2 separate regions of the Homo sapiens genome follow, and region 1 is linked to region 2. The links are contacts of gene promoters, found by promoter capture Hi-C in blood cells and fetal thymus (Javierre and others, 2016). All regions are on one chromosome and are shown on one strand. Each heading gives the region's core, a stretch centred on a gene start or on the middle of the fragment in contact. The rest is flanking DNA. Distances are from core to core; before and after follow the strand shown. Region 1 has its middle 77 kb from the start of MTIF3. Region 2 holds the start of CDX2 (caudal type homeobox 2).

What was found. The method cuts DNA at HindIII sites, captures the fragments that hold promoters and counts their contacts. A CHiCAGO score of 5 or more calls a contact.
Region 1: a fragment that was not itself captured here is called in contact with the fragment with the promoter of CDX2 in region 2 in 1 of 17 cell types (M1 macrophages); the score reaches 5.3 in M1 macrophages.

What each region holds. Positions count from the first base shown.
Region 1 is chr13:27,525,646-27,529,072 of GRCh38, forward strand. No RefSeq gene overlaps it. Among named protein-coding and RNA genes, the nearest start is that of MTIF3, 77 kb to the left of the region's middle. The HindIII fragment of the contact is 1,945 bases long and covers 869-2,813 here.
Region 2 is chr13:27,967,935-27,970,943 of GRCh38, forward strand. CDX2 (caudal type homeobox 2) reads right to left here and starts at 1,381. Exons shown (of 3, transcript NM_001265.6): 1 at 532-1,381. The coding sequence starts at 1,072. RefSeq lists an enhancer at 616-1,307. The HindIII fragment of the contact is 4,126 bases long and covers 1-3,009 here.

The DNA.
Region 1 (3,427 bases), core at 591-3,090, 440 kb before region 2:
CTCACTGCTCTCTTGATTTTGTAACAGGAGCTCCAAGCTCCTGTCTGGCTCAAGTTTCCAGGGATGATCCCTGAAGCAGGAGCCCATTCTCTAACTGCAGGTGGGCATCCTCACCCTGCACAGATGGGGGTGTCATGTGGAGATCGTGGGTATCCCCTCCTGGGCGCACTCCATCTCTTGAAGCCTCATGCCAAAACCCCTCCACTCCTGGGTACCATCTGTTTGCCTTCTATTTTTATTCCTTTGGTTTTTGTCTTCCTAATTGTCCCAACCTGACTAGCTCAAGGATGCTAGAACTACATTCTCACCATTGCCAGAAGAATAGACAAACAGAAGCCTGAGTTTTACCTAAAGGTAGAATGACAGTCTCTACTTGTATATTTGTCTCTTTTTCTAGGATGGGTTAGACAGAGCCCCATTTGCTTCTGTGCCCCTGGCTCCTGATGGGCATGGGTCCTGACACTCATTCATTGGGAGCTCTAAAGCTGTCGGCTTGGAGTTTGCCAGGTGCCATCATCTGACTCCTTGACAGGCTGCTGCAGGCTGCCTGGGTGCAGAGCAGTGCCCCTGGCCTTCCGCAGGATGCAGCTGTATCATTGCTGCAGGATTCTCTTCCACACAACATATGGGCAGAGAACAAGCACAGAGAACAATGAAAATAACTCCTTACATCTATTTGCACACTTCTTTCTAGTTTACAAAGTATGTTCACATTCGTTATCTCCTTTGAGTTTATGTTTCCTCTGTCACTTTGTCAGGTTGGAAAGGCTATCATTATCCCTTGGTACAGAGGAAGACACTGAGGTTCAGAGGTGAGATGCTTTGCCCAAAGCCCACAGCTAATAGGAGTGAACCCAGAATTGGATCAAGCTTTCTCTTGATTCCAATTCCGATGCTCTTCTTCCTTTCCCAGTGGGAAACCCACATTCCCTTAGGTCAGATCAGCCTCTCCCTTGGTGTTTAAGCCCAAATACTCTCATTTCCTCCTTCTCCAAGACAGGAAATCCTAGTGGGAGGTGTCTGGGTCATGGGGGTGAACCCCTCATGAATGGCTTTCTGTCATTCTGAAAGAAGTGAGTGAGTTTTGATCTCGTGAGACTGGGTTAGTTATCACAGGAATGGATTCGTTCTCACAAGAGTGTGTTGTTATAAAACCAGGAGGCCCCTTGGTTTTTCCTCTTTGCATTTATCATTTCTCCTTTGACCTTCTGCCATGTTGTGACACAGCATGAAAGCCCTCACCAGACACTGAGCAGATGCTGGTGCCCTGCTTCTTGAACTTTTCAGCCTGCAGAACCGTGAGCTAAATAAACCTCTTCTTTTTATAAATTACCCAGTCTCAGGTACTCTGTCATGGCAACAGAAAATGGACAAAGACAGTAGGAAACAGGGCTATTCAGGGTCAAATTTGCCTCCAAACACTCTCTTCTCAGATCTACCTCATGCTAGGTCCATCTGGATGCCTTTCTCAGGGTTCCCTTCTGAGCAGCAGCAATACTTACAAGGCTACCTCTTAGGGCAGAATAGGGGATGGAGGCACCCAGATCATCTCGAAGTAGGTAATGAGGAATTGTGGCTGAGCTCCGTGAGCACACACCAATGCTGGGAGGATGCCACATGTGCCAACCTGGGAAAAAGCTGATGATGCTCAGGCTCAAAGAGGTTAAGTGACGTGTCCAAACTCACACAGGTAGCTTGTGGCATGGCCAGGATTCAAACCCGAGAGTGGCTGGATCTGAAATTCCACTCTACAGGCTATAGGCAGGAGTGCCAGGAGGTGAGGTGCCCAGCCCCAAAGGAACCAGGAATCAGGGCTCCAGGCCTGAGAAGAAGTGTCTTCTCTGAAGAAAGGGCATGCATTTGGTCTCCTCTCCTTTTGTTTGTGGTCATCTTAAATGAGATTTCCTTCCCCCTTGGCCTCACCACCCACTTTCTTACACACTGGCCTCCTGTGTGGGAAGGTGGAGCTAGCATTAGATCTAGAGGCTGGAGCCTGGATCCTGGTTCTGGTTCAGCCCAGCTGGTTCAGCCCAGCTCCGGGGAAGTCATTTAACTTATCTGAAGTCTGGTTTCCTCACCTGAAAACCAGGGGGTTGAGCAGGTGATCCCCTGCTGAGATGTTCTCACCTGCAGCATTCCAGGACTCTGACATTTCCGTGATCCACAACCCTCTCCTCTTCTCATACCCTCCACCTGCCTGCCTCTGCCACCCTTGTGGGGGTACAGATGACCTGGCACAAGGCACTGTCACTATCAGCCAAGGCCGGCTAAGGAAGACAATGCCAGCCAGCTAGTGCCGAGACATCCCATTCTGAGGAATGCTGGCACAGTGAGGTGCTCTGTAGAATGCAGCTATTTTCTTCTTCCTAAAATGATCCCCAGTAGCTGTGCCTTGGGCTGCCAGAAGTGCTCTGCAGGAGATAACTTGGTCCTATATGCTCTTCACTCTTGTTTTGCATGACTTTAAGCAGTAAGTGCCCCCCGACACTCCTTTTCTTCAATGTTCCCCACTAGAAACTCCCTGATATAGTTTGCATATTTGTCCCCTCCAAATCTCATGTTGAAATGTAATTCCCAATGTTGGAGGTGGGGCCTTGTGGGAGGTGTTTGGATCATGGGGGTGGCTCATGAGGAGGCCCTCATGAATGGCTTGGGCCATCCCCTTGGTGATAAGTAAGTCCTTGTTCGAGTTCACAAGAGATTTGACCATTTGGAAGTGTGTGGCAACTCCCGCCACTCTCCCACTCTGGTGCTTGCTCCTGCTTTTGCCCTGGGAAGTGCTTGCTCTTCCTTTGCCTTCTGCCATGATTGGAAGCTTCCTGAGGCCTCCCCAGAAGCCAGGCAGATGCCAGCACCATGCTTCCTGTAAAGCCTGCAGAACTGTGAGCCAATTAAACCTCTTTTCTTTATAAATTACCCAGTCTTAGGTATTTCTTTAGAGCAATGCGAGAACGGCCTAATACACCCCTCCACCCACCCAAAGGAGCCCTGCAGATGTGATGGAAAGGCATGGCCCTGACACCTTCTCCTTAGTCCTAAGTCACCAGCCAGAATCTCAGTGTTGGAGGTCACTTCCTCCAACCTCGCTCCCATGCAAGAAGAGTCTCTCCGGATGCCCACCTGGCTTCTCCATGGAGCCTTCTGGAGACACTGGCCTCGTGCCAGAGTGCCTGGAATTGTTGCGACCTGTCTTGGCATTGTGACCCCGTCTGCCTTCCCACAATTCTCAACACGAGCACCCACTCAGCCTTCTGCAGTGATGCAGGAAGTGTCAGCTCTCTTCTGCAGGATGGCCTAGAAGCTTATGAAGACAGCCGATGTGTGCCTTGGGCCACTGCATGGTCAACGTCTACAGTTTCCTGTTACAGCTCAGATGATGAGGTTTCCACAGCTACCTTCGGGACATGATCCAGATTCCCACGTCCAC
Region 2 (3,009 bases), core at 131-2,630:
CGAGTGGCCAAACCCGGTCCCACACACAGCCTAGCCATCCTCCGACCCCCCCAGGTCACTTCTCTTCTTAGATGGCTCAGATGGGGAAAGAGAGAGCGGAGATAAATGGCCTAGACCTAGCCCAAGAAGGTTCGAGCCTCCCTCTCTCCTCGGCGGCCAGGAGCCACGCAAGGAATGCATGCCGCAGCAAGTGCCGGAGGACGCGATTCTGCCGGCGTCCAGCAGTGCTCACGCCGACATTCCCCGGAGCTTCCCGAAGGTGTCCCGGGGTTGCGAATGAGGAGCTCTTGGAAAGAGGACGCCTGAACACGGTGTTGAGACTCAGAATATTCACTCCCAGGCTCAGTAGGTCAGAGAAGCCCCGACGGGCCAGAGGCCCCCGAATTTGTCTCCGGGCCGTGCCCCTCCTGGCGCCGAGCTCCCAGACAGCCCGGGACGCCCCTGTGCGCACTGGACGCGCGACGCGCAGCAGCCACTGGCTCGACCCGCGCCTTCCCAAGCACCCTCCGAAGGGGCGCAGCCTCTGCTTACCTTGGCTGCCGAGGGACTGCTGCGCCGGCTTCCGCATCCACTCGCACAGGTTCCGCCGCTGGCCGCCGGGAGACAGCTGCTCGGCGGCAGCGGTGGCGGCGGGCCCAGGAGGGCCGGGGTTGAGCGTTTGCAGCAGCCCAGAAGCGCAGGAAGGCGCGGCGGCCGGGTGGTGCGGGTGGTGATGCGGGTGGTGGTGCGGATGGTAGTCTGCGGGGCTGCTGTAGCCCATGGCTGCGGCCGGGGAGCCACCGTTGAGGCCGTGAGCCACGGCGTTGGCGGCGGCCGCGGCGCCTCCGGGCGCGTAGCCATTCCAGTCCTCCCGGAGTGGGGCGCCATACGCTGCCGGCCAGGATGGCCCCGGGGACTGCGCGCTGTCCAAGTTCGCTGCCGCTGCAGCTGCGGCCGCCACGTGGTAACCGCCGTAGTCCGGGTACTGCGGGGGGCTGACGAAGTTCTGCGGCGCCAGGTTGAGGCCGCCAGAGTGGCGCACGGAGCTAGGGTACATGCTCACGTCCTTGTCCAGGAGGTAGCTCACGTACATGGTGGCGAGGGTCCGGGAGCAGACCTCACCATGCTGCCTGGGGACCGACGCTGGAGGCTGCCGGGGGGCACGAAGGGAAAGGGGCGAGGGGACTCGAGGAGCGGCGGGTGGCTGCGCCCCAGCCCGCGGTGCTCCGCTGGCTCCTCGCGGCTCTTCTGCCTCCGAGGCGGTCCCTCCCTCTGGCCTGCCTCCTCCCTCCCTCCCTTTCTTCCTTCTTTCCTCCCACCTCCTTCCCACTAGGCTGCAGAGGCGGGGAAGACCCGCCACAGGCTGGCGTGCGGAGCCCCAGGCCGGCGGCCTTCCGTGATTAACGAGTGTTTACAAGACTCTATTAGTAATGACACAGACACCAATGGTTGGAGACGTCGAGGCGCAGCGCGCACTCTACGCACAACCCCTCGAAACATAATTTGCATTTTAAAAGATAAAGGGGAGGGAGGCTCGTGAGAGGGCAGCGACCTGACACAGCTAAATATTCAAACCTTTATTGTTAAGAGCTTCCTCCTTCCAACCTGGTGCACTTTAACCTCCAATCACAGGTTCAAAGAATGAAATCAAGAGACTTACAAAAGAGAGGGGAAGAGAAAAGGCTATCTTGGTAGGAATCTGAGCTTGGAGACAGGAGCAGTGGTTGTTTATGCATTTGCAGGGAAGAGGGCGGTCAAGAAACTCCTTCTGTCCCAAAGAGAAAAGAAAAGAGAACCATTGCTTTGATGAGAACGTTTCTGACCAACCTGGTAGGTGACAAGCAGAGAGCCCTAAGAGATGGGCCATTCCTTCCCGCCCTGTGCTCCTGGCCCGGACGACTGCAGCCCCAAACAACTGTCACCTCCAGTTATTTTCTTGCCCAAGGAAATTACTCGCCCTCCGCACAAGACAAATTATGATCCTAGATTCAGGCTGCATCTCTGACTTCATCTTACATTTGAAATTTGAGTTAAATTCAAGCGATTTATTGTTAAACGTTTACATTCAAGAATCAGAAGTTTTAAACTACAGAAGTAATGGGCATGTGGTAGAAGTTAGGCTAGTGGTTATTGGCGTGCATAACTGGAGGCGAGCTAGGGGATCGTTGGTAAAGCAGTTTCTTAGGCTGCTGGTTACACAGAATGTCAGTTTGTGAAAATTCATTGAGCTACACTTGTATGTTTATTATACTTAAATATAAGGAAAAGAGAATTTCTGCTAATGCTTACCTAGGTATTTATGTGTCTTACATCATACCTGTATCTTTAAAACTCTCTGTCCTTTACAAAGGGAAACGTTCTCCGAAGAAATTTATTTCTCATTTCCAGGAGATGATAAGGCAACTCAGGGCCATTATTAACGACTGCTAATGAAAAGCTCTGAGTTGAGAAAGGATCTCTCTTGGTTTGGGAAGCGCTGCGGCCAAGGGGCCTAGGGCTGGAAGTGGCCGTCTTGGGGACCGAAGCCGCGCAGCCCGGGATCGGGAGCTGCCCCGACAGGAGCGCGGAGGCGGCGAGATTCGGCCCCCGCGCGCGCCCAGCTCGGTTTCAGCAACCGCGTGGAGTGGGCCTGCGGCCGCCGTTCACCTCCTAATACAAGCCTTTGACAGCGCTGCCAGATTCGGGAATGAGGATCACTGCGGCGAGGCCCGGCGGGCTGGGCAGCCTGACTCGGCGGCTTTGAGCGCTCTCAGAACCCGCGGGCGCTCGCGGCACTCCTGGAGACCTGCACTTGTCTGTTCTCATTGTCAAGCGTTTCGCTCGGATATTTGTCACCATCGCCTTCATCCTGTCATTTCTAGGGTGCTCTCCAGTGTCCTTTATCTCCCTTGAGCCTCACATCCCCCTAGGATCTAGAACAAAATCTGGGAGGTGTTTTTATCCTCCCCATTTTACAGGTGACAACCAGCAACTTGCCTCTGCAGACACCTGAAAGCGATCAGAACTAGCCTAGGGCTGCGGGATCCCCTG